6 separate regions of the Homo sapiens genome follow, and regions 1, 2, 4, 5 and 6 are each linked to region 3. The links are contacts of gene promoters, found by promoter capture Hi-C in human tissues and cell types (Jung and others, 2019). All regions are on one chromosome and are shown on one strand. Each heading gives the region's core, a stretch centred on a gene start or on the middle of the fragment in contact. The rest is flanking DNA. Distances are from core to core; before and after follow the strand shown.

The links. Contacts are between HindIII fragments. The study calls those that stand out against the background at their distance.
Region 1: a fragment that was not itself captured here is called in contact with the fragment with the promoter of VPREB1 in region 3 in 1 of the 25 tissues and cell types used here (IMR-90 fibroblasts).
Region 2: a fragment that was not itself captured here is called in contact with the fragment with the promoter of VPREB1 in region 3 in 1 of the 25 tissues and cell types used here (dorsolateral prefrontal cortex).
Region 4: a fragment that was not itself captured here is called in contact with the fragment with the promoter of VPREB1 in region 3 in 1 of the 25 tissues and cell types used here (spleen).
Region 5: a contact is called between a fragment that was not itself captured here and the fragment with the promoter of VPREB1 in region 3, in 3 of the 25 tissues and cell types used here (lymphoblastoid cells, mesendoderm cells and spleen).
Region 6: a fragment that was not itself captured here is called in contact with the fragment with the promoter of VPREB1 in region 3 in 2 of the 25 tissues and cell types used here (dorsolateral prefrontal cortex and mesendoderm cells).

What each region holds. Positions count from the first base shown.
Region 1 is chr22:22,051,401-22,056,314 of GRCh38, reverse strand. It overlaps IGL. Among named protein-coding and RNA genes, the nearest start is that of TOP3B, 71 kb to the right of the region's middle. The HindIII fragment of the contact is 5,123 bases long and covers 363-4,914 here.
Region 2 is chr22:21,996,887-22,001,356 of GRCh38, reverse strand. It overlaps the pseudogene PRAMENP. Among named protein-coding and RNA genes, the nearest start is that of TOP3B, 16 kb to the right of the region's middle. The HindIII fragment of the contact is 5,385 bases long and covers 1-4,470 here.
Region 3 is chr22:22,241,975-22,246,901 of GRCh38, reverse strand. VPREB1 (V-set pre-B cell surrogate light chain 1) reads right to left here and starts at 2,116. Exons shown (of 2, transcript NM_007128.4): 1 at 2,043-2,116; 2 at 1,387-1,956. The coding sequence starts at 2,088. The coding sequence ends at 1,565. It also overlaps IGL. The HindIII fragment of the contact is 13,267 bases long and covers 1-4,927 here.
Region 4 is chr22:22,023,648-22,027,965 of GRCh38, reverse strand. It overlaps the pseudogene PRAMENP, IGL and the pseudogene IGLVI-70. Among named protein-coding and RNA genes, the nearest start is that of TOP3B, 43 kb to the right of the region's middle. RefSeq lists a silencer at 1,243-1,362 and an enhancer at 2,463-2,642. The HindIII fragment of the contact is 3,317 bases long and covers 493-3,809 here.
Region 5 is chr22:22,090,172-22,094,833 of GRCh38, reverse strand. LOC102724653 (a long non-coding RNA gene) reads left to right here. Exons shown (of 3, transcript XR_938059.3): 2 at 99-210. It also overlaps IGL. Among named protein-coding and RNA genes, the nearest start is that of TOP3B, 110 kb to the right of the region's middle. The HindIII fragment of the contact is 5,829 bases long and covers 1-4,662 here.
Region 6 is chr22:22,108,101-22,112,488 of GRCh38, reverse strand. It overlaps IGL. Among named protein-coding and RNA genes, the nearest start is that of TOP3B, 130 kb to the right of the region's middle. RefSeq lists a silencer at 757-826 and an enhancer at 1,147-1,226. The HindIII fragment of the contact is 8,065 bases long and covers 1-4,388 here.

The DNA.
Region 1 (4,914 bases), core at 1,675-4,174, 190 kb after region 3:
AAGACAAGATTAGAGAAAAAAGAGTGAAAAGAAATGAACAAAGCCTCCAAAAAATATGGGACTACGGGAAAAGACCAAATATATGTTTGATTGTTGTACCAGAGAGTGACGGGGAGAATGGAACCAAGTTAGAAAACACTCTTCAGGGCCAGGTGCGGTGGCTCATGCCTCCTAATCCCAGATCTTTGGAAGGCCGAGGTGGGCAGACCATGAGGTCAGGAGATCAAGACCCTCCTGGCTAACATGATGAAACCCTGTCTTTACCAAAAAATATGAAAAATTAGCCGGGAATGGTGGTGGGTGCCTGTAGTCCCAGCTACTCGGGAGGCTGAGGCAGGAGAATGGTGGGAACCCAGGAGGCAGAGTTTGCAGTGAGCCAAGATCGCACCACTGCACTCCAACCTGGGTGACAGTGGGAGACTCTGTCTCAAAAAAAACCAAAAAAAAAAAACCCTCTTCAGGATATTATCCAGGAGAACTTACTCAACCTAGCAAGGCAGGCCAACATTCATATTCAGGAAATACAGAGAGCACCACAAAGATACTCCCCAAGAAGAGCAATCCCAAGACACATAATTGTCAGATTCACCAAGGTTGAAATCAAGGAAAAAATGTTAAAAGCACCCAGAGAGAAAGGTCAGGTTACCTACAAATGGAAGCCCATCAGACTAACAGTGGATCTCTCAGCAGAAACCATACAAGCCAGAAGAGAGTGGGGGCCAATATTCAATATTCTTAAAGAAAAGAATTTTCAAACCAGAATCTCATATCCAGCCAAACTAAGCTTAATAAGTGAAGGAGAAATAAAATATTTTACAGACAAGCAAATGCTGAGAGATTTTGTTACCACTAGGCCTGCCTTACAAGAGCTCCTGAAGGAAGTACTAAACATGGAAAGGAACAACAGGTTCCAGCCACTGCAAAAACATGCCAAATGGTAAAGATCATTGAAGCTATGAAGAAACTGCATCATTAACAGGCAAAATAACCAGCTAACATCATAATGACAGGATGAAATTCAAACCCAACAATATTAACCTTAAATGTAAATGGGCCAAATGCCCCAATTAAAAGACACAGACTGGCAAATTGGATAAAGAGTCAAGACCCATCAGTGTGCTGTATCCAGGAGACCCATCTCATGTGCAAAGACACACATAGGCTCAAAATAAAGGGATGGAGGAAGATCTACCAAGCAAATGGAAAGCAAAAAAAAAGCAGGGGTTGCAATCCTAGTCTTTGATAAAACAGACTTTAAACCAACAAAGATCAAAAGAGACAAAGAAAGCCACTACATAATAGTAAAGGGATCAATTCAACAAGAAGAGCTAACTATCCTAAATATATATGCACCCAATACAGGAGCACCCAGATTCATAAAGCAAGTCCTTAGAGACCTACAAAGAGACTTAGACTCCCACACAATAATAATGGAAGGCTTTAACATCCTACTGTCAATGTTAGACAGATCAATGAGACAGAAGGTTAACAAGGATATCCAGGACTTGAGCTCAGCTCTGGACCATGCAGACCTAATAGACACCTACAGAACTCTACACCCCAAATCAACAGAATATGCATTCTTCTCAGCACCACATCGCACTTATTCTAAAATTGACCACATAATTGGTAGTAAAACACTCCTCAGCAAATGTAAAAGAAAAGAAATCACAAAAAACTGTCTCTCGGACCACAGTGCAATCAAACTAGAACTCAGGATTAAGAAACTCACTCAAAACCACTCAACTAATGGAAACTGAAAAACCTGCTCCTGAATGACTACTGGGTACATAACGAAATGAAGGCAGAAATAAAGACGTTATTTGAAACCAATGAGAACAAAGACACAACGTACTAGAATCTCTGGGACACGTTTAAAGCAGTGTGTAGAGGGAAATTTATAGCACTAAATGCCAACAAGAGAAAGCAGGAAAGATCTCAAATCGACACCCTAACATCACAATTAAAAGAATTAGAGAAGCAAGAGCAAACACATTCAAAAGCTAGTAGAAGGCAAGACATAACTAAGATCAGAGCAGAACTGAAGGAGATAGAGACACAAAAAACCCTTCAAAAAATCAATGAATCCAGGAGCTGGTTTTTTGAAAAGATCAACAAAATTGATAAACCGCTAGCAACACTAATAAAGAAGAAAAGAGAGAAGAATCAAATAGACACAACAAAAAATGATAAAGGAGATATCACCACCCATCCCACAGAAATACAAACTGCCATCAGAATACTATAAGAACCTCTACACAAGAAAACTAGAAAATCTAGAAGAAATGGATAAATTCCTGTACACATACACCCTCCCAAGACTAAACCAGGAAGAGGCTGAATCTCTTAATAGACCAATAACAGGTTCTGAAATTGAGGCAATAATTGATAGCCTACCAACCAAAAAAAGTCCAGGACCAGACAGACTCACAGCCGAATTCTACCAGAGGTACAAAGAGGAGCTGGTACCATTCCTTCTAAAACTATTTCAATCAATAGAAAAAGAGGGAATCCTCCCTAACTCATTTTAGGAGGCTAGCATCATCTTGATACCAAAGCCTGGTAGAGACACAACAAAAAAAGAGAATTTTAGGCCAATATCCCTGATGAACATTGATGCGAAAATCCTCAATAAAATACTGGCAAACCAAATCCAACAGCACATCAAAAAGGTTATCCACCACGATCAAGTCAGCTTCATCCCTAGGATGCAAGGCTGGTTCAACATATGCAAATCAATAAATGTAATCCATCACATAAACAGAACCAGCGACAAAAACCACATGATTACCTCAATAGATGCAGAAAAGGCCTTCGACAAAATTCAACAGCCCTTCATGCTAAAAACTCTCAATAAACTAGGTATTGATGGAATATATCTCAAAATAATAAGAGCTATTTATGACAAACCCACAGCCAATATCATACTGAATGGGCAAAAACTGGAAGCATTCTGTTTGAAAACCAGCACAAGACAAGGATGCCCTCTCCTATTCAACACAGTGTTGGAAGTTCTGGCTAGAGCAATCAGGCAAGAGAAAGAAATAAAGGGTATTCAACTGGGAAAAGACGAAGTCAAATTGTCTCCGTTTGCAGATGACAAGATTGTATATTTGGAAAACCCCATCATCTCAGCCCAAAATCTCCATAAGCTAATTAGCAACTTCAGTAAGGTCACAGGATACAAAATCAATGTGCAAAAATCACAAGCATTCCTATACACCAATAGTAGACTAACAGAGAGCCAAATCATGAGTGAACTCCCACTCACAATTAATACAAAGAGAATAAAATACCTAGGAATCCAACTTACAAGGAATGTGAAGGACCTCTTCAAGGAGAACTACAAACCACTGCTCGATGAAATAAAAGGGGACACAAACAAATGGAAGAACATTCCATGCTCATAGATAAGAATAACCAATATCATGAAAATGGCCATACTGCCCAAGGTAATTTATAGATTCAATGCTATCCCCATCAAGCTACCACTGACTTTCTTCACAGAATTGGAAAAAACTACTTTAAAGTTCATATGGAACCTAAAAAGAGCCTGCATAGCCAAGACAATCCTAAGCAAAAAGAACAAAGCTGGAGGCATCATGCTACCTGACTTCAAACTATACTACAAGTCTACAGTAACCAAAACAGCATGGTACTGGTACCAAAACATATATATAGACGAATGGAACAGAACAGAGGCCTCAGAAATAACACCACGCATCTACAATCATCTGATTTTTGACAAACCTGACTAAAAAAAGCAATGAGGAAAGGATTCCCCCTTTAATAAATGGTGCTGGGAAAACTGGCTAGCCATATGTAGAAAGCTGAAACTGGATGTCTTCCTTACACAGTATACAAAAATTAACTCAAGATGGATTAAAGACTTGAATGAAGACCTAACACCATGGCCGGGCACGGTGGCTCACGCCTGTAATCCCAGCACTTTGGGAGGCCGAGGCGGGCAGATCACAAGGTCAGGAGATCGAGACCATCCTGGGTAACACGGTGAAACCACGTCTCTATTTAAAAATACAAAAAAAAATTAGCCGGGCGCAGTGGCAGGTGCCTGTAGTCCCAGCTACTTGGGAGGCTGAGGCAAGAGAATGCAGGAACCCGGGAGGCGGAGCTTGCAGTGAGCCGAGATCACGCCACTGTACTCCAGCCTGGGCTACAGAGCGAGACTCTGTCTCAAAGAAAAAAAAAAAAAAAAGACCTAACACCATAAAAAACCCTAGAAGAAAACCTAGGCAATACCATTCAGGACATTGGCATGGGCAAAGACTTCATGACTAAAATACCAAAAGCAATGGCAACAAAAGCCAAAATTGACAAGTGGGATCTAATTAAACTAAAGAGCTTCTGCACAGCAAAAGAAGCTATTATCAGAGTGAACAGGCAACCTACAGAATGGGAGAAAATCTTTGCAATCTACCCACCTGACAAAGGGCTAATATCCAGAATCTACAAAGAACTTAAACAAATTTACAAGAAAAAGCAAACAACCCCATTGAAAAGTGGGTAAAAGATATGAACAAACACTTCTCAAAATAAGACATTTATGCAGCCAACAGACATGAAAAAATGCTCATCATCACTGGTCATCAGATAAATACAAATCAAAACCACAATGAGATACCATTTCACACCAGTTAGAATGTTGATCATTAAAAAGTTAGGAAACAACAGATGCTGGAGAGGATGTGGAGAAATAGGAACGCTTTTACACTGTTGGTGGGACTGTAAACTAGTTCAACCATTGTGGAAGACAGTGTGGTGATTCCTCAAGGATCTAGAACTAGAAATACCATTTGACTCAGCCATCCCATTACTGGGTATGTACCCAAAGGATTATGAATCATGCTACTATAAAGACACATGCACGTGTGTGTTTATTATGGCACTATTCAC
Region 2 (4,470 bases), core at 1,156-3,655, 250 kb after region 3:
TGTCAGAGATTGAAATCTCAGAAAAATCAGTATGGGTCTTACCTTCATAGGTATCAGTTTTATTGGCAGGAGTTTTTTTTCTTTCCTAGGTGGTGCATCTTACAAATCTACCTGTCTCATAGCCATTTGACATTTGGCAAGAGAAGACAGAGCCAGGGAACCATCCTGGAGGGTTTTTTGCTGCTGGGTTTATGGCATAGCTCTAAGGGTAGGGAACAGAGGGTAGACAGGGTCTCCTGCTGCCAAGACCTTGACTTCGTTAGACAGCTTTCTTCAGTTAGGTAAGCTACAATGGAATCCTCTCCCAGAAAGTTCCTCTTTTTGCCTAAGCTACCTATGGTCAGGCTCTGTGGATAATGAAAATCAGATCCTTCAATAATTCTACAAGCTCTTGGGAGAGCTTGCTCTATGTGTTTTCACGGATTGATTTCTGTTCTCAGGTCAACATAATATTGTTTTATGTAAACATATGGTAATATTAGTGTTAATGTTAAATAGTGAGATCAGAACACATGATTAAATATAGAGTTTATTTGCGCACAAAGCTTGAGTATAGCCACCCAGGAAACACTAACTCCAGATGAACGGGGTCAGCGTTCCAAAGCAGTGAAGTTAAGGTTTCACTTATGTAGGCAGAGACAGAGAAATTTTAGCAGGATTGCAGAGTTTTCCATACAAAACCAGTGCATTCATTACAGTGATTTGGTTGGTTATAGAATGCTATATTCCAAGAAAGATTACTTTGTTACTCCCTGAGAAGAGGTAGTGATCTGAAGGGGTCCTATATCCGGTGCCATTAGGTCTTCCTAATTTTCTATAGTACAAGAATAAGGAAGAAAGTTGATTTAAATCAGAGAAGTAGAAGTTGCAGCTGCATATTACATGACTCAGGCCACATAGCCACATTTCTCTCAAGGCTCAGAATAATTTCAATTTCCAGTAACTTTAAGTTTGAATTTTTTTTTTTCTTTGAGACAGGGTCTCACTGTCTCGCCCAGACCGGAATGCAGTGGCCGGATCTTGGCTCACTGCAACCTCTGCCTCCCGAGTTCAAGTGATTCTCCTGTCTCAGCCTCTCGAGTAGCTGGGATTACAGGCATGCACCACCATGCATGGCTAATTTTTTCTTTTTTGTATATTTAGTAGAGACAGGGTTTCACCATGTTGGCCAGACTGGTCTCAAACTGATCTCAGGTGATCCAGCCACCTCAGCCTCCCAAAGTGCTGGATTACAGGCATGAGCCACCACGCCCAGCCAGTTTGAATTAATTTCACATTAGTATCTCTTCAATAGTCTTCTCTTAGTTTTGTTTTTGTTATTTCTTCTAGATTAAAGTCATAATTAGACATTATTTAAAATGTCCTAACTATAACAATATTTATATCTTTTCAATATTTGCTCTCCTCATCCATTTACATCTTTCCATTTATTAATTTTACTCCATTACATTAATTTTTTAATTCTTAATACTGTTTTCACATTTATTGTCATCCCTAGATGACAGAAAAAAGTGAGTGAATAGTTTATTTCATACATCTACATTACTTCTGCCATTATACATTTACAGCTCAGTTCTTGCTGGAAATACTGGGCACTCTTGTGCAGTCACATCAGCAGAAATACTCCTATTAATTATATTAACTGTTTCCTATTTTATCCTTTTTAGCTTCCAATTGTTAAAAGATAATTTTCAGAAAAGTAGAATTGTGACTTTATACAGATATAGAAATGAACATGTATTAAAGAATTTATTTTACTCATATAATATGAAGTACCAGGCAGATGTTAAAGAAGAGTTAAGACAGCACATATTTATATGACATGAAGGGATGTTGAGATGAATTTCAGATGGAGACAAAATTTTCCACAGGTAGAAGTTAGGAGAAAATCATTACCAGACCAGACAGAATTTATATGTCTATCAGTTACCTACAACTTATAAAGTTAAAAAATAGCTCAAAGATAATGAACAGGACTCAAATCTGATAACCCAGAAGGGTACATTACAGAGGATCCATTGCTTTCCACTGTAGAGGAGAAAAAATCATAGCTTTTCCTCACCCATCTCAAGGGTCTTTGCTGATACCCCTATTTTAAAAAGGCAGATTAACAAGAGGACACCATAACAAATGTATCAAAGTTTTGCGTGATACAGGAACCTTCAGAAATGAAGACTCAAAGACCCAGGGAGAACTGTAGTTCTTAATTTAAAATTTTTTTTAGAGACTGGGATCTTACTGTATTGCCCAGACCGGCCTTGAATTCCTGGGCTCAAGCAGTCCTCCTGCCTCAGCCTCCCAAGTACCTGGGATTACAGGTGCATGTCACTGCACCTGACTATCTGTATATATGTATGCTTAGGTTTGATGAAGGATGGACAGTCATGTACAAGTATGATTGGACAAAAAACCTGTGGTCTAATGGTAATAAGCTGGGGAGAACTTAGCAAGGCCTGTTCATTCAGATTCTTCTTGGCCCCTCTGTGTAGCATTTCTTTCCTCCTGGTAATAGGACAGGACACCTGTCACATGGGGTGGAGGTCTCACTGCCTACTTTCAGGAAAGGAAGGTCAAAGAATTCCTTTATGACTAGCTCTCACACAGAAAGGCAGGGAAAAGTCAGAGAGACACCTTCAAAGTTCCGTATTTCGGGGTGACATTCTGAGCCGCAACACCATTTTTTCCTACACTATGTACATAATCGTTTGCCTCTTTTTATTGCCCTAGACAACCCTATTGTTATGTGTCTTACTGCACCGGCTACAACTTTCCCAAACAATGTTGATAGTGTGCATGCTTGTTTCTAATTCAGACATCAACAAAAATACCCATGATACAGCTCCTCTCTTTCCCTCTCTCTTTCTTTCTCTGTCTCTCTCTGTCTCTCTGTCTTTCTCTCTCTCTCTCTCTCTCACACACACACACACACACATATATTATATATATATGTTTATATATAGAGAGAGAAAAAAATTTTGATTAGTCATGGAGAAATAATGATAAGACAAAAGAAGTATGAGAGTATGAGCCAAGTGTAATAAAATGGCGGAACAGCGGGCCTGTGTGTTCAGATCCCTCTTGGCAAGCGTTCATCTTTGGAAATAAGGATATGCCTTTCCTTCCTGTATAGGGGGAGTACCTCTCACAGGAGGGTCTTATACCTACTACAGGGGAAGGTCAGAAAATCCTGCCTGCCCATGCCATTTCTCAAATTCCTTCAGCTTAAAATATTCAGTATGCCAAGTTGCTGTATTTTGGGAAGGCACATCCTAAACTCCATCAAAGTCCTGCTAGAAGCAGATACCAAGATGGAAAAACATCCAAGGATTTTTACTAGGGGAGCCCCCTATGAGGGGCATTGAGGGGTGAGCGGGAAGGCATGGAGACCCCACTGACCTACATCGCTGTGTTTGGTGAAGCAGAACTGGAGGGAAGGTTGGGTGGAAACGTGTGCACTCAGGAAGATTTAGCAAAGCTATCAGGGAGTCCTGAAGCCAAAGGTGGTTGTCAGAGGAGTGATGTCTCCCAGGAACTAGTCTGTCACATTGTCTCCCAGGAACTGATCTGTCCCCAGTCATTGTTGGTGAGCAGCATGTGGTGGTGTGACTTGGGCCTTAAGGCTGCCAGGGATTCCTAAGGGCAGTGGGTGGGGCCCTTGGTTCAGGTGCATTTCCTGAGTTGGAGGTGCAGGGCACACTCTCATGGTGGCCACACCATCTTCATCTTGTTTCTAACTTTAAAAGCAATGTTGGCTGGGCGCGGTGGCTCACGCCTGTAATCCCAACACTTTGGGAGGCCAAGGCGGGTGGATCACGAGGTCAGGAGATCAAGACCATCCTGGCTAACATGGTGAAACCCCGTCTCTACTAAAAATACAAAAAATTAGCCGGGCGTGGTGGCGGGCACCTGTAGTCCCAGCTACTCGGGAGACTGAGGCAGGAGAATGGCGTGAACCCAGGAGGTGGAGCTTGCAGTAAGCCAAGATTGTGCCACTGCACTCCAGCCTAGGCGACAGGCAAGACTCCGTCTCAAAAAAAAAAAGCAATGTTTATAAAACACCACTACTAAATATCAGGTTCAGAACCTTGCCTTCTATTTCTTCTTTGATTTTCTCAAATGCATTGACATTAATAATTAATAAACCTAACATTAACCATTCTTGCTCAATCGTTCTTGATCACTATTTGTAAGAGATATTTATAGATTTAGTGTGCCAGGCGTTTGATTTGATTTGCTAGTATTTAAGCCTTTGCTAGATAGCTTCCTATGTATGATTGGCCAATAATTGTCCTTTCTTATACTGTCCTCTGTCCTTGCCCAGTTTGTTGCCAAGGCCGTAGTGGCCTCATACAAATAGATTTCATAGCTTGTGAGACTGTGAATGAATGTTTCTTGTCTCTGACTAGCATAGATCCTAGAACTCTGCCGTCCAGAAGTGTAGCATCTGGCTACATGAAGCTATTTAGATTG
Region 3 (4,927 bases), core at 867-3,366:
GCATGTCTACAGGTTGTGTGAACACCCAATGTAGAGAGTCCCTCTCCGCAAGGCACACTCAGACCCACCACCCACGGGCTCAGGGGGCCTTGCTGTGGGCCGGGGCTGCAGGGAGCTCCCCATTGCTACTTCACCCAGACAGTCCAACACAGTCTCAGTGAGACCACGTCCTTCATGCCTCTAGGTATCTCCATGGGTCCAGAGGCTTCTGCCTGGGGTCACAGGCAAGATAAGTTGAGGGGGGACTCTGATTATCCCACCAAGCATGGCTTGCTTAAAACCTGGAGACAGGAGCTGGAGTGCTCCCGAGCAGGGCTCAGCAAACTACAGCCTGGGCGCCATACCCAGCCCAGTGTAGCCCCATCTGTTTCTGTAAATACAGCTTTATAAGAACACAGCCATGCCTCTTTGTTGACATGTTTGTCTGTGGCTGCTTTCTTGCTACTAGGACAGAATTGAACAGTTGTGACAGAGATCGCATAGCCCACAAAGCCAAAAATATTTACCACCTGGCTCTTTATAGAAAATGGGCTGGGTGCAGTGGCTCACGCCTCTAATCCCAGCACTTTAGGAGGCCCAAGCAGGGGGATCACTCGAGCTCAGGAGTTTGAGATCAGCTTGAGCAACATAGTGAGACATTCATCTCTCCAAAAATAAAACTAAATAAATAGCCAAGCATGGTGATGCACGCCTGTAGTCTCAGCTGCTCAGGAGGCTGAGACAGGACAATCACTTGAGCCTGGGAGTTTGAAGCTGCGGTGAGCTATGATTGCACCACTGCACTCCAGCCTGGACCACAGAGCAAGACTTTATCCCTAAAAAAAGGAAAAAAAGAACATGTTTGCCGACACCTGCCACTCTCTTGTACAAATAAGTAAATGCATTTACTTGCTCATCTAGACCAGTGGTTCACAATCAGTGTGAGTTTACCACCTGGGGACATTTGGCAATGTCTGGAGACATTTTTGTTTGTCACAACTGGGAAGGGGCATCTGGTGGGTAGAGGCCACAGATAACCACTCACCATTCAACAATCCGCAGGACAGCCCCACAACCAAGAACTGTCCAGCCCAAAACGTCGATAGGACCAAGGTGGAGAACCCACTCTAGGCCTATTACCTGGCTCCTGTTCTCCCTGGAGGCCCAGACCAGGTGCTTTCTAAGCTTGTTTGCCCTGTAACCGCTGGGCAGAATCAGATGACACCAGAGGGTCCTGTCCTGGGCATGGATGCCCCTCCAGGGTGCTTCGGTCAACCCCTTGCCTCCCATGGCCCACAAAAGTAAGGACTCAGGTGAGTGCTCACCACAGTGATCTGCCAGTCTCCCGGGGCCCCGGGCCTTTGCCCAAGGCTGGTACTACGAAGTCGCACAACAGTCAGACCAAACTCAGCAAAAAGTGACAAGCAGCTTTAATTCCCTAATGCAGTCTCCAATGGGGATTTACAGCAACACTGCAGGACCAGGAGATGCTGAGTGGCTCAGCCTCCTCGGCGCTTCGGGCGGCGACTCCACCCTCTTCCATGACAGTCTCTCCAAGGGGATGCGTGCCTCTGCTGTCTTCAGTTCAAGGGACACGTGTCCTGGCTGCAGTGGGTTCCATTTCTTCCTCCCACTCCCTCTCCCTCTCCTCCTTCTCCGAGCTGCGGGCCCCCATAGCACAGTAATACATAGCCTCGTCCTCAGGCTGCAGCTCAGAGATGCTCAAATACCCCCTGTTCCTGGCCACATCTTTGGATCCAGAGAAGCGAGGGGGGACCTGGGGGCCCTGGCTCTTGTCTGATTGTGAGAAATATCTCAGCAGGAACCTGGGAGGGTGGCCCGGCCTCTGCTGGTACCAGTAGACGCTGTACACACCGATGTCATGGTCGTTCCTCAGGGTGCAGGTGAGGCGGATTGTGGTTCCAAGGGCCGAGGACATGGCCGGCGGCTGATGCAGCACCGGCTGAGGACCACAACCTGGTGACACAGATGCATGTGGGCCGTGGGGGCAGGGCAGGATGAAGGAAGGGGCAGGAGTCTTTGGGATCTGGGGGTTCCCTCACCTGTGCAGTAGACAAACAGCATGAGCAGGACAGGAGCCCAGGACATGGTGCAGACATGCAGAGCTCTGACTCCTGTGGCCACGGTGCCTGGGGTCCCCAAGGGCTGGCCCAGCATCCTCCTCCCTGCTCTGAGAGGTGGGGCCGTGGCACACCCCGTTCCTGGCCACTACCATCCCAGACTTTCTTGGGTCTGCAACGTCGGTTACCGGAACAGCGTCGGGGCAGCATTTGTGGCTCTGATCTTGCCATATGGAAGCATTCAGGGAGGAAGCACCTGCTGGAGACTCTGGGGCCAGTGCCCTGGAGGCCTTTGGGTTAAGGTACCTCAGGGGTCGTGACCTCAACTTCCCCCTGAGGAAACCGCACCCCAGATAAATAAATTTTCTGTCTACATTTAAATGCTTGGTGAGCCAGGAAGGGAGGACACATCCTCGGGGGGTGAAAACACCTGCTTTGTACAGCAGAAGACACTGGGGGCCCAGAGCGGGTTGGGATGTTCTGCCCCTTCCATGTTGCAGCACTGCCTTCGGCCCATGCTCCTCTCCCTACTAGAACCAAGTAGAGTGACTCAGGCATGGGAAAGAAGCACCAGGGCCTGGTGCCTTCCCCACCCCTGTTCTGGCTCACCGAGCAGGTGCAGCTTGGCACTGTGATAGACTGAATTGCATCCCCCAAATCCATAGGTTGAAGCCCTAACCCCCAGTGTGCCTGTATTTGGAGATAGGGCCTTTAAGGAGTTAATGAAGGTTAGATGAGGTCATAGAGGTGGGGCCCCGGTCAGTACAACTGGTGTCCTTATAAAAAGGGGAAATTTGGGAGCCGGATGCAGTGTCTCACACCTATAATCCCAGCACTTTGGGAGGCCAAGGTGGGAGGATCACTTGAGCTCAGGAGTTCGAGTCTAGCCTGAGCAACATGGCAAAACCCCATCTCTACAAAAAAAATTTAAAAATTAGCTGGTCATGGCGGACAGGCACCTGCAGTCCCAACTACTTGGGAGGCTGAGGTGGGAAAATCACTTGAGCTTGGGAGGTTGAGTTGAGGCTGCAGCAAGCCAAGATCTCACCACTGCCCTCCAGCCTGGCCAACAGAGGGAGACCCTGCCTCAAAAAAAAAATGAGAATAAAAATAATACATTAAATGTATGTTTGCATACTACCTGCAAGATTTAAAAAAAAATTAAGGGGAAATTTGGACTTAAAGTCTCTGATCCCACATGCTCACCCTCCCTCAAAAAGCTGGAGTGTCTCCTCCCCTGGAACCTGTGCAGGCCTGTGATCAAGGCTGAAGTGTCCCTGGGTGCACGAGGTGGCACTGAGCAGCTGGGTGTGCACTGGGACTGTTTACTTGCAAACACTTTGATAGAGCAACCACCCCTGAGGCTCAGATGAGCCCCTGCTCGGTGTCAAGCTGCCCCACATCCATTCTCTGCCTGGTGAGGTGCAGGCTGCACCAGTTTCAGCCCGCAGGGTCGACTCTGGGAGCCCCACCCTTCTTCCCACTGCCTCTCTGGCCAACAGCTCCACTGCCCAGGTGAGGGCTGGGGAGGGCCTCTGCAGACACAGGATGTCTTGACCACTCTGTCCAGTAACAGCTGCAACCACATCTATGACCTGTTGCTCCTCCCTCCTCTGCACAGGCTGGTGGGCAGTGGGGAACTAACCAGTGACTGCTGACTCCTGGAGAGGAGAAAGGAAGCTTTTTTCACTCATTCATTCATTTATTCCCTCATCCAGTAGCTCATTCATGTGTTGTGCACGTATTTGTGAAAGAGAAATATACCTCCCAGACCCCTCCGAGAGCACCAGTCCTTGGGAATCAGGGCAGGAGAAGGTTCCACCTGTGGGCACCAGCACTACTGCAGTCCCTGAACTAGCCCTACCACTGACACTGTCAGAGCTTTTTGATCCTTTTAAGCTCAGAGAGGATAGGTGTTTCTACTTGCTCTTACAATTATACTTAGAGAGCAAATAAGCCCAGCCCTCAACCGTAGAGACACTCTGGTCCCAACTTTCTTTCACAGGCTTCACTGACCCAGGACCTTTGCATCACTCACAGAGCAAGATAGTATCCAGTGGTGACTGTGCGTGCTGGGGAATGACTGGGCCTTCCAGACCCTGCTGGAGATGGTCTCAGACCCCTGGAGCATCTAGAGTTAGATGCAGGTCATGCACTCTGAACTCTGCATTCTCCTGGCCCTGGGCCACTCTTCCCACCTCTGTTCCCTCAGCCTTGTCCTCAACCCACCAACACCTGGACTCAGGGATCATCTGCAGGGCACAGCAGTTTGATGGGATTGAAGAACACCATGTATTCAGTCCTTTCTGGCTGCACTCAACTCTTTTTAGATAATTCTAGACCAAGAGAAGGTTGGTGAGCTCTGTAACAGACCTCAAGGTCTACAAGGGTCTCAGGGGAGACAGGAGCTATTCAGTGCTCCTGCCTGGTTTGTAGATTTTTTTTTTTTTTTAGAGACAAGGTTTCACTCTGTTGTCCAGGCTGGAGTGTAGCGGTGCAGTCACAGCTCACTGCAGCCTCGAACTCCTGGGCTCAAACAATTCTCCTGTCCCAGCCTCCCAAGTAGCTGGGACTACAAGCACATGCTACCACACCCAGCTAATTTTTTTTACTTTTTGTGGAGACAGGGTCTTGCCATTTTGCTCAAGGCTGGTCTCAAATTCCTGCGTTCGAGAGATCCTCCTGCCTCAGCTTCCTAAAATGCTGGGATTACAGGTGTGAGCTACCCACCGCACGCCCGGCTGAATAGATATTTTAAACTGTTTCAGCGATCCACTGCTACGTGGCAAACCACCCGTAATGTAGTCATTTAAAACAAGACTTGATTAGTTCCCCAGTTCTGTGAGTTGCCTGGGTGGTTCTTCTGG
Region 4 (4,318 bases), core at 902-3,401, 220 kb after region 3:
TTTTTATTTTTCTCAGTGTGACAAACTCTGTGTTTAATATATGTGCTTAGTTCATTTACATTTAATGAAATTATTCACATGGTTGGATTTAAGCTTACAATTTTAGTGTAAGTTTCCTTTTTCTCTTTATAACTTTTGTTCCTCTCCACCCTGTTTCTGCTACTTCTGGATTATTTGAGTATTATTTAGTGGGCTCTTTTGATTTTTATATTGATTTTATATTGGTATCTCTGCACAGTTTTACATTGGTTGCTGTAAAGATTACAACATGTACATGTAACTATTCATGATCTATTTAGATTTAATAATAGGCCTAATATTTTCCCAGTCATGTAGACCCCTTACAGTTCCTTCTTTTGGTTGAAGTTTCATGTATATATATATATGTGTGTGTGTGTGTGTGTGTGTGTGTGTGTGTGTGTGTGTGTATATATATGTATATATGTGTATATATGTATATATAATATTTTTCATAAGTAGAAATTATATCAAAAATGCTATAACTTAGCTTTTGATATGCATATTTTCCAGAACTGTAGAGCTAAAAATTTGGTCTTTTACTACTATATTTATTGGTTATTCTTCCTGCATTCTTTGGGTTCAATGTTTCCATTATCATTTATCTTCCACCTGAAAATTTTCTCTTAGAGTTGATTTGTTTTGATTTTTTTTAGATGAATTCTTTCAGGTTTTCTTCATCTGACAAAGTCTTATTTTTTACCTTTTTTAAAAAAAAAAAATCTTTACCTGGATATAGCATTATGACTCAACAGTTCTTTCTTTCTTTCTTTTGACTTTGTAAGAACATAACACTGCCATTTGGCCTCAATGTATACTCATAAAATACCTCTCATTGTTTGAATTGTTGATTTTCTGTATATATTATAAAGCTTTCTGTCTGCTTTCATAATTGTGTCTTTATCTTTGGTTTCAGTAATCTATTATTACATGCTTGGGCATTTGAAAAACCTAGCTGTTTGGCATCACTGAGTTTCTTAGGTCTTTAAATGCATGTTCTTTACAGAAAGTCTTTAGCAATGACCAGTGGCTGGGGAGAAAGGGTGAAGGGTGGCTGCTAATTGTGGGGGTTTTTTTGTGGGGTGATGAAAACGTTTTAAAATTAGATTATGGTGATAGATGCATAATTCTGTAAACACAATAAGACAATTTAATTGTACATTTTATACGAAGTGAAATTTATCTCACTTTTTCAAATAGAGACAATGTGGGAACAAGGCCCGCTGACCCTTTGCAGGGGCCTGTGGCTGAGTCTCACTTCCTCCCTTGCTTAAACTGTACGATCAGCCACAGGCACCCTCTTTGTTTGTCATAGGCAAGTATGGAGTGATCAGCCTCGGGACAGGCCAAGGGCAGGTTTTTGTCTCGGTTCCCCATGTGCCTGCAGCACTGTGTGAGCACTGAGGCTGTAGTCCCATGTTGAACAGTAATAATCAGCCTCGTCCTCAGGCTAGAGGCCCGAGATAGTCAGGGAGGCTGTGGTCCCAGACTTTGAGCCAGAGAAGCGGTCAGGGATCCCTGAGGGCAGAGAATTTCCAAACATCACAGTTTTGGGAGCACCGTGAGAAATCTGTTGGTACCAGCCCACAGCATAACTTCCAACGTTGTTGCTGTTTCCAGTACAGGAGAGGGTGACCTTCTGTCCCACGGTCCCTGACACCGAGGCTTCCTGGGTCAGCGCAGACTGTGCCCAGGACCCTGGAACAGAGGAGGCAGGCACAGAGAGGTGAGTCTGGGTTCACTACCCACCCCACAATGTTAAAATATAAGAGAAAAGTCATCCCATGTGTCCCCAATAATCACTTTGGCATTCCACAGGCAGTCACCTGAGCAGAGGGTGAGAAGCTGGAGGAGGAGAGGGGTCCAGGCCATGGTGGAGATGCCCCAGGCTCTGCTTCCTAAGCCCACAGCTGAGCAGAACTGCACAGAGTCTCTCTTATCCTCTCCTCCTAAGAGGGCACAGAGCACCCTTCATGCAAATCACACCCCTCCCCCTGCTATCCCTGGGCCTGAACTTGGGGAAAGTTGAGTGTGGGGTGGGGCTAGAGGAGCCTCTTCTGCTCCTGGGAGGTCCCAGCTGCTGGGCCCCAGAAAGCACAGAGCAGAGGGCCCAGGGTAGGGGTCCAGGGCCTGGTTTCCCAGTTGAAACCCCCACAGACCCTCAGGGACAGGCCACACTTCCCTCCACTGTCTCAGAGCCCAGGTTCATTCCTGACTGGCTTGAAGGTCCTCAGCACTGCCTTGCGCACACCATCCCCACACAGAGGCAGCGCTCACGCCCCTCCACCCCCACCCCAGGCTCTTTGTGCTGCAGGTGCTCACCACAGCACATTTCTCGCTGCAAGATGGGCCTCCTCAGCATGAAGTCATCCTCTGCTTCTTCCCCATTTAGATTTTTGTGTGGTTGGGGCCATAGGTGAGTGAGCCTCAGAGAGAACATGTCCTGCACCCAGTGGCCAGGAGGGCAGGAGGGTTAACAACCCTCCCCAGCCTCCATATGGGCCTGAGGGCACCTGCTTCTCTCTCTCATCATACCCCACATCCCCCCGTGGGAGGCCGGGCTCCGTGACCCTCATCACTGTCCTCATCACACCCTTGATGGGGTGAGACCCTTAATGAAAATGCACAGGGAAATTATTCAAGAAGAGACCATCATTATGAAAGAGAGAAAAGTCTGCTTCTCTTATGGATACTTGGACCTGAGGAAGATGACCAAGGTCACCACTCTCCCTAGATACAGCCCAGAGAGGGGCCACCGGGATGACTAGGCACCAGGTAGGATGTGCACATCAGGGTGAAATTGGGAATGGGGGAGGTTAAGAATAGAAGGGTTAGAGTTTTATGGAAAGATCAAGAAGATGACCCAAAAGTTCCGAGACACCTTGTCTAAGCCCTTTACTCACAGTCCAATGTGATTTAACCATTCAAATTTTTTGTTTTTGAGAATGGGCTTTGCTCTTGTTGAACCTCCGCCTCCCAGGTTCAAGCGATTCTCCTGCCTAAGCCTCCCGAGTAGCTGGCATTACAGGCACCCATCACCACACCTGACTAATTTTTGTATTTTTAGTAGAGACGGGGTTTCACCGTGTTGCCCAAGCTGGTCTCAAACTCCTGACCTCAGGTGATCCACCGGCCTCGGCCTCCCAAAGTGCTGGGATTACAGGCATAAGCCACCGCGCCCAGCCTCAAGTATTCTTTTATAGCACTTACTTTGTGTCAGGTACCATTCTATTTGCATCGTGAATGTTAACACGATTATTTTTCCGAGGACCTAATCCGCAAGTGTAGTTTCAGTGGCATTGTATGCTGAGATAGATTACACATACACACACACACACACACAACACACACACAAACGTAAATGTTTGTGTATGTGTTTAATGCTTTCATCTGCATGATTCAGAAAAAATTTAGCATAGTATCTTTCACAGTGATCCACACAAAACAAAAAGATGCCTGTGACCTTGACAATTTGATTCTCCATGGTAACGCTAAAACCTGTATAATATTATTACTTAGTAGTCACGCAGTAAATATTTTTGAATTGAAAAATTAGTGAATATTTAAACACACACACACACACACACACACACACACACATTTCCACCTATCCCAACCCTGGGTAAAAAAATACGATGACAATATTCATTTCAGTCTTCCTCTTTTATTTAATAATAATCCTCCATCTAAATTCTCAGCCAGTTTGTTGGGAGTCAGCCGAGATAGATCTGCTTTTCTCACACACAAGCTCCAAGCCCTCTCCATGTCCAATGTATTCTACAGCATAAAGTGACAAGGAATCTGCTCTCTCCTCTTTACCCCACAGTAACTCACCTAGATCTTCCCACCAGGATGGCATGAGCAACCACATCCTGTCTTCCTGTCCCAGGCCTCTCCATTCTATTCTCATTACAGCTGGAGAGTCACTGATCAAATGCCAATGTGAGTTCATCTCTCCCACCTCACAGCCCCGCAGTGGCTCTGTGTGCTTTTCTCAGGAGGCTGATCTGCCCCAATCTGCACCTCCAGCTCTGCAGCCACCCTAAGTCAGAGGTGTTAGAACCAGAGTGACTCCATGTTGAATAGGGGCTTGATTAAATGAGGCTTAGGCATGCTGGCCTGCATTTCCAGGAGGTTAGGCATTCTTAGTCACAGGATGAGCTAGGAAGTCAACCAGACTGGGATCACAAGATACAGGTCATAAAGACCCTGCTGATAAGACAGGATACGCTAAAGAAGCCGGCCAAAACCTACTGAAACCAAGACGGTGAGGAAAGTGACCTCTGGTTGTCCTCACAGT
Region 5 (4,662 bases), core at 628-3,127, 150 kb after region 3:
GTCTTTGAGATAAAGTTTCTCAGCTTCTGCATGAGTGAGAGGATGCAAAGTTTGTCTGTCTCTGCCTGGCTCATTTCATTTACCATCATGTCCTCCAGGTGCAACCGTGTGGCTCCCGTGATGGGAATTCATTGTATTTTTCTGGCTGAAGAGTATTCCAGTGTCTACGCATGGGACAGTTTCCTTATCCCTTCATCTGCAGATGGACAGGTCGGCTGATTTCTCATCTTGGCCATTCTGCATAGTGCTGGATTCCACCTGGGAACGCAGATAATCTCTTCCATGGCTTGATTTCATGTACTCTGTATATACGACTAGTAGTAGATTGCTGGATGAAATGGTAGTTGTGGTTTTAAGGTTTGGAGGGACCTCCAAGTGGTTTCTTTAGTGTGTGTACTAGTTTATGTTCCTACGAACTGCGGAGACAAGTTCCCCCTCTGGAAATCCACACCATCGTTTTTTTGTCTTTTAATATTTTTCAACTTTTTTTTTGTAGTATCCATTCCATCTAGAGTGAGATGGAATCTGAGTGGTGGTTTTCATTTTCTGTGTGTGTGTGATTAGTTATATTTGCCATGTTATTGTTAATTTGTTTTGAATTTGATGTGTAAAAGTGGGCAGAGGACCTGAAGACATGAGGTTGATGCACAGGTAAAAGATAAGATTATCAACATGGCCGATTCACACCAAAACATGATTGAAAACCACACTCAGATTCTATGTCACTCCAGTTAGAATGAATACTACCAACATTTGATGGCAGTTTCATTACTATAGAGTGTATGTATATAACCAGAGGGTGCAAGGGACATTTTGATATATGTATACGTAGTGTCATGATCAAATCATGGTGTCTGGCTTCTTATTATTTCCCTGTGGAGAGAACATTCAGAACCATCCTTTCCAGCTGTTTTTGAAAAATTCCCCTAGACATTGTTGACCCTGGTCACCCTGCTGTGGAATAGAACATCAGAATGGATTCCTCTCCTCTGAGTGTTACTCTGTACCCATTACCAATCCCTGCCCAGGCCCCCTCCTCTCTCCAGCTTCTAGTAACCCCTATTGAAAGTTCTGCTTCTAGAAGACAGTGTTTTTTGGATTCCATTTGCCTAATGTCATGCAGTATGGGTCTCTCTCTAACAGGCTCATTTCATTTCCCCTAATTGTCTTCCAGGTTTCTCCACATGGCTGCAGATCAATGATTTCCCAAACTGTTATGGCTGAAATGCTTTCCATCATGTATATATCCAGTTCCTTTATCTCTTCATCTGTGGATGGACAGTTAGGTTGATTCCATATCTTGACTATTGTGACTAGTGCTTCAGGACACATGGGAAGGCAGATACCTCTTCAATGCAGGGATTTTGTTTCCTCTAAATGTGTACCCAGTGGTGGGATTGTTAACCTGGAGTGGTGGTTGTACTTTGACCTTTTACTTTTTTAAGGAACCTCCAACAGTTTTGCATAGTGTGTATACTAATTTACATTCCCACAAAGAGCGTACAAGAGTTTTCCTTCCTGCAATTCTACACCAGCCATCACCTCCAACAATTTTTATTTTTATCTTTTGCAATATTCATTTTAACTGGAATTATATGGTACCTGAGTATGGTTTTGATTCACTTTTTTGTGAGGATTAGTGATATTGAGAAACTGTTAACCTGTGAGTCAATTTCCTGTCTTCTTTACACACATGTCTATTCAGATCCTCTTAGCTTGGGTATTTGTTGTTGTTGTTTTTGTTGTTTTTCATTTAGTAGAGTGAGTTTATTGTAGGTGTTAGATAACAATCTCTTTCAGAGGTAGGACTTTCCATAATTCTCTCCTAGTCTTTAGGATGCATTTTGTTTGTTTGTTTATTTCATTGTTTCTTTCCCCCTGTAGAAGTTCTAAAGTGTCACTAGTGTCTTTGTTTATATTTGCATGTTAGCTGTAATTTTTGTATCCAAACCTCCACCCTACAAAACACACACACATACACACACACATATATAGCCAAGCCATTGCATTGTCTGTGCATGTAGTTCCCCTAATTTTCCCTTTAGTGTTATGATTATTTTTCACCTTTTGCAGCCTGTGTGCATAGATACAGGCTTCCTAAAATATACACCCAACCTATGTTTTCTTATAAGACCTTTGCAGTTTCAAGATTGAGTTTAGGTCTTTAATTTATTTTGTGTTGATTTTGTGTATCGTGCAATGCAAAGGTCTTATTTCAGTGTTTTGCATGTGCATATTCAGTTTTCTCAAAATCACTTCTTGAACCAGACTCTCCCTTTCCCATTGTGTCTTTTTGGTGTTTTGAAAAATGTGTTCCCTATGTATCATGTTGGGTTGAGTATTTGGCTGCCTCATTCTGTCCACTGGGTCCTTGTTCTGTGTTTGTGACAGTCATGGATTGTTTGGATAACTATAGATTGTGTTTTTTCATTTATTATTTTCTTCGCTTCTGATCTTGACTTTTTCTTTCAATGCTCTTTACTCTTACTATTCTAGTTTAAAGGGTACACATGCAGGTTAGTTACATCTGTTGATTGCATGACACGGAGGCTTGGGGTCCCAACAACCTCATGACCCAGGCAGTGGGCAGAGGATCCACAGGGTGGATCCTCTTTTTTTTTTTTTTTTTTTTTGGTCTGGTAGTCATTCCCAGTGTCTGTTGTTCCTTTCTGTATGTTCGGGTATATTCATAGTTTAGCTCCCACTTATAAGTGAGATCATGCAGCATTTGGTTTTCTGTTCGGGGCTTAGTTCACTTATGATAATGGCCTCCAGCTCCATCCACGTTGCTGCCAAGAACATAACTTTCTTTTATGGCTGCATAGTGTTCCGTGGTATATAAGTAACACATTTTCTTTATCTCGCCCACTGTTTTATTTTTTATTTATTTATTTTTTAATTTTTTGAGACAGTCTCCCGCTCTGTCATCCAGGCTGGAGTACAGTGGCACAATCACAACTCACTGCAGCCTCGACCTCCCAGGCTCAGGTGATCCTCCCACCTCAGCCTCCTGATTAGGTAGGACTACAAGTGCCTGTCACTGCATCTGGCTAATTTTTGTATTTTTTATAGAAATGGGGTTTTACCATGTTGCTCAGGCTGGTCTCGAACTCCTGGACTCAAGGGATTCACCTGCTTTGGCCTCCCAAAGTGCTTGGATTACAGGCATGAGCCACCGCACCTGGCCTTCTCACAGTTTTTGAGGCTGGGAAGTTCAGGATCAAGGCACTGTCATCTGATAAGTGCCTTTTTTCTGTGTCCTCACATGGCAAGAAGAGAGACAGAGCACACCGCTACCTCCAGCCTTTATATAAGAGACCTGATCCCAACCGTGAGGTCTCCGTGTTCAAGACTATATCACCTTTTGAAGGCCTACCTCTTAGTACTATCACACTGGCAATTAAGTATAAATCCTTTTGGAAGGGAGACATTCAAACCAGAGCACGATGAAAACAGCAGCACTGGAAGGCAGGGCTCCTCACGTCAGTCATTTACTCCAGGGGGACGGGAGCCACCCTGCAGAATGCAGCTCAGTCTTGGGGAGAGAGACGAGGGGATAAGAATGGGACTAGGAATAGACATGGGAGTGCCCCCTGCTCACAGGACAGAGAGGAGAAGCATCAAATCGGGTAAAAATAATGAATGCCTCATTTATTTCTTCTAGCACTTATTCAATCGTTTCAGTAATACATATTCATTAGCCAACTACTCCTCAGGTTTGGGCTCCTGGCGTCAGTGGGTGAATTTGGTTTTTCAGGTTGTTCACATATTGTTATGTGCAATTTTTTTTCTGCTGATTCACTCAGTTAATAGAAGTGTGTGCTATTATTTATAACTATAATTGGGAATTGATTCTTTTCTCTTCCTTAGTCCTGCTAATTTATATTTTATATAGATTATATTATTAGGGACATGTTTTTTGGTTTGTTTATTTGTGTGTGCTTTTTTGGTTTGTTTTGTTCGTTTGTTTGTTTGTTGTTGTTTGAGATGGGATCTCACTCTGTCACCCTGGCAGGAGTGCAGTGGCGCTATCTTGGCTCACTGCAACCTCCACCTCTCAGGCTCAAGGGATCCTCCTACCTCAGGCTCCCAAGTATCTGGGACTACAGACACATATGCCACCGTGCCTGGCTAATTTTTTTTTCTGTACTTTTTAGAGATGAAATTTTGCCATGCTGCCCAGGCTGGTCTAGAACTCCTGAGCTCAAGCAATCCACCCACCTTGGCCTCCCAAAGGGCTGGGATTACAGGCGTGAGCCACCATGCATGGACTGATGTGTATTTTATAATTGTTATGTGTTCTTGTCAAATATTTCATTTTATATACATAAAATGTCCCACATTTCCTGATGTAAATAATTTTCATTGAAATTATCTGGTCTGATACCGAGATAACCACAAGAGCTTTCTGCAGGTAAATGTTTGCATAGTGTATTTTTAGCATCCTTTAAAATATAACACACAAGTAACTTTATTTTAAGGAAATTATTTTTATCTGGTTCATCAACACATTTACATTGAATATAATTGCTGATATTGTGTGTGAGTTTACCTTTCTCTTTATTTTATTTGGGCTTTTTGCTTTATTTCTTTTCGCTCACTTTTTATTTTTCATGAATCAAGTATTTCTAACTGTATCATTTTACATTAGCACCTATTTAG
Region 6 (4,388 bases), core at 70-2,569, 130 kb after region 3:
CACGTGTAGGTTATTCATCTCCTTCCTCTTCTGTAATCTTCCTGGAGGGAAACTTAGCTCTAAGAACTGACCTACTCCACTGTAGGCATCATAAGGGGAAAAGATATGAAAAATATATCAAATTAACATTTTAAGAAAAAAACACATTTTACATCTATATATCCTAGGAAAATTAGACACTGGCTGAAAAAGTAACAACAGGAATCAATCCCTGAGCCAGAGTTGGTCCCAGGCAGGACAGTGGTGATTGCACCAGGCAGAGAGAACACAGGGGAGGTCCTAGTCTCACTTCCCTGGGGTTCTGGAGCACTGTGGAAGTGCCATGGCTGCTGAGATATGTAGTAGCCTCATCCTCTGGCTGCAGCCCAGAGATGTGCAGAATTACTGCATTGGCTGAGGCATCTTTAGATTTAGAAAAGTGACCGGGGACCCTGGAGCCATGGTGCTTACTTGAGTCAGATTAGCAGACTGTTCTACACGTGCTGTCCTAGTCCATTTTCTCCATTTTCTTCTGATACAATAGAATACCATATATTGGGTAACTTACTGAGACTAAAAGTTTATTTGGTTGAGATTTCTGTGACCTTAGAAGTCCACAAGCAGATGCTGAAATCTGGCAAGGGTCTTTCTGCTGCATTATCTCAGGGAAAAAGGGCAAAGAAGAGTGTGAAAATGAGTAAATAGGGTTGAACTTTATCCTTTTATCAGGAGCCCACTCTTGAGATATCTATCCCACTGGAGATATATCATCTCTCAGGAGATACTAGAGAGCACTCCCTAGATGCTACTGGTAGCAGGATATGTGCTAGCCACCAGCAGTGAAGCCACAGCTCAGGGTAAATGTGAGCCTCAGAATTTCCCAGAGATGCAGAGAGGGAGGGTGGCTGAGTCAGAACAGGCCGAGGTGGGGGGAACCTGCAAACACAAATGCTCATGGGTGAGTAAGCAGGGATGAAATGTGAGAGTGGAACACGGGGCAAGAACTCAGACTGGGAGGCTTTCCCAGGAATCTGAGGCCTGTCCCTACCTGATAAGTGAGAGGGGAGCAGCAGGGAGGAGCAGGGGCCCCGGCCATGGTGGACACAGCCCTCCCGAGGTCCAGAGCTGGAGTGGCTGCCCTAGGCCTCTCTTATCCCCTCCACTGGCCTCACAGAGGAAGGGTTATGGATGCAAATGTGTCCCACCCACTGCCTGCCCCCACCCCACTCTATGCATTTATTCAAGACCTGGGGACTGGTGGATGAGAGAGTCTGGCAGGACCTGGGAGGAAGTGGGTGCTGGAACCACACCCAGAGAAGATGCAGCAGCTGAGTCGGCTTCAGTGAGTGCAGGCTCCACTGCCCAGCCCTGGGGAGTTTAGGGGTTGGCACAGCTATGAATAGCCACTGTGCAGACCGTGAGACAGACCCACAGTGCCCCTGCTGCTCACTGGCCAGACTGCAGTCTCAGTGGGAATCATGTGAGTGCAGTCATCTAAGGGCCTGGTCCAAACCATCCATGAGCCATGCCCCTGCTCTGTCCTGAGCTACTGGTATTAATAAACAGCCTTTTCATTGAGGGCTCCTGGATTACTAGAAGAAGGACATATGGGAAATATAACAATGGCCTAATGTGACGAGGCTACAGTGAGGGGAGAATGCAGACAGCTTCTGGAGCAAAGACCCGGGCAGCTCCTTCCACAGGGATCCACCTCTACTCACAGAATAGGAAGGAAAAACTTAACATCAGTTAGAAATACATAAACGAAGGCCTCAATTGTTTGTTCCTGTGATGATTCATTGGATGCGTTCATCCATGAATGCATACTCAAGCAACTACCCTTCAGGCTTGGGTTCCTGGTGTCACTGGATTGATTTTGTTAATCATGGTTTTCACGTATTTGTATGTATACTCTTTTTTCTCCATGTCATTCACTCAGTTAATAAGAGAGTTGTATTAATATCTGTGTATATGATTATGGATTGATTATTTCTCTTTTTAATTCTGCTAAAAGAGACAGTTTTGCTTCAAATACTTTAAAGCTATTTTATTAGGTGCATACAATTTACAGTTGTTATGTGTTGTCATTGAACACCTTATTTCACCAGTATAAAATGCCTCCCTTTTCTTGGAAAAAAATGTTTTTCATAAAAGCTTTCATACTAATACTAACTTTAGAGTAGGCAGATAGCTAGACAGAAGCAGGAGGGGCAGCCCCTGAGAAAAGGGAGTTCTGGAAAATCTCACACCCCAGAGACCACCCAAAGCACACATGCTAGATACGAACAGAGATTAGGGTAAATACCTATGCCAGAACAAAGCCCCTTAAGACACCCAGTATTCACTCACTCTGAAGTTAACCTGTCAGAATGTAGCTAGCTGCATGCTGATAATAGGGGTGAGAGCAAAGGAGAAATTTCTAAGAGAGATGCAGGTACAGTAAGTATAGATTTGACCACCATACAACCTTCCTGGGGTGGCAGTAATGAGCAATGCAGCCATTAGGTAGAATTCCTATCAAACACTGGGCCCATGTGTGTGTTAAGGGAGGGTCCCACAGCCTGGGCTGGAAACTATGTGGGGAAAAGGCAGGGACTTAAGGCTGAAGCAGAAAAACTAGAGAAAGAAAAAAAGGTGGAGACTTAAAACAGAGGTGGGAACTCCAAGAAAAAGTGCAATATCATAAAAACTCAGTGCACATTTCTCGGGCCGCTGGCTCATTCTCTATCAGCAGCCCGCTCTGCCTTATCTTCCAGAGTACACTGTCTCTCTAAATAAACTATTTGCTCTCTGTTTTTCTTCAGTAAATTCTCTTTTTTGCCTAAATTGTCTCTTGGCCAAAACTTTCTCCCAAGACAAAGGACAGAGGATTGCCATACTTGCTTTCTGTAAGTGGTTTCATGGTATTTTCTATCCCTTTTTCATGTTAATAAGAACGTTTAATGTGTGATATACCCTCTGAATAAAATTTTAAGTACATAATACAGTGTTGTCAGCTGTAAGCACAGTGTTGTACAGCACATCTCTAGAACTTGTTCATTTTGCAAACCTAAAGCTTCATAGCCCTTGAGCAGTGACTCCCCATTTCCTTCTCTCCCTACCCCTGGCAACCAGCATTCTACTCCATTTCTGCTCGGTTGAGTATATTAGACACCTCCTATAGGCCGGACGTGGTGGCTCATGCCTGTAATCCCAGCACTTTGGGAGGTCGAGGCAGGCGGATCACCTGAGGTCAGGAGTTCGAGACCAGCTTGGCCAACATGGTGAAACTGTGTCTCTACTAAAAATACAAAAATTAGCCAGGTGTGGTGGCAGGCACTTGTAATACCAGCTACTCAGGAGGCTGAGGCAGGAGAATCGCTTGAACCCGGGAGGTGGAGGTTGCAATGAGCTGAGATCGCGCCATTGCACTCCAACCTGGGTGACAAGAGCAAAACTCTGTCTCGAAAAAAAAAAATTAGATACCTCATATAAATGAGGCCGTGCAGCATTTCCCCTTCTAAGATTGGCTTATTTCACTCAGTGTAATATCCTCCAGGGTTTTCCCTGTTGCTGCATATGGCAAAATTTAATTATTCTTTTTTTTTTGAGAGACAGAGTCTCACTCTGTCACCCAGGCTGGAGTGCAGTGGCGCAATCTCAGCTCACTGCAACCTCTGCCTCCCGGATTCAAGAGATTCTCCTGCCTCAGCCTCCTGAGTATCTAGAATTACAGGCTTCTGCCACCACACCCAGTTAATTTTGGTATTTTTAGTAGGGGCGGGGTTTCACCATATTGGTCAGGCTGGTCTTGAACTCCTGACCTTGTGATCCGCCCGCCTTGGCCTCCCAAAGTGCCGGGATTACAGGCGGGAGCCACCGTGCCCGGCCTAATTCTTCTTGAATTTGAACAGCATCCATTGCAGCTATACACCACATTTTCTGTAAACATTCAATGATTAGTGGACCTTATGCTGTCTCCATGTCTTTGAAATTGTGATTAATGCTGCATGAATAAAAATGTGCAAATATTTCTGCAATATCCTGATTTTCATTCTTTTGGATGTATGCTCAGAAGTGCTTTTTATTTAAAGAGTGTATCTTTTAATTTAGTTTGTCAATCCAAGTGAGGCCTGGTGGAGCTCTATCACTTCAGTAACAAGAAATTGAGAAATGTCCCCTGTCCCTGCTTTTCACAGGTTTCGTCTCAGCTCTTCAGCCTCCTGCCTCTTATGGGTTGGAAATCCACATCTGTCATAATGAGGACTAGTGTGGGCTTGAAATCATCAACCTCTACTTTCTTTTTCATCCCTGTGTTATTATAAATTATGGTTTTGGTCTTTGACCCCATTTCTTGTTATACAACTCCTAAAATACTTAAAATCACCAGAGTCTTTTTGTATGCTAATGAGATGACTGTTGGCTGACAG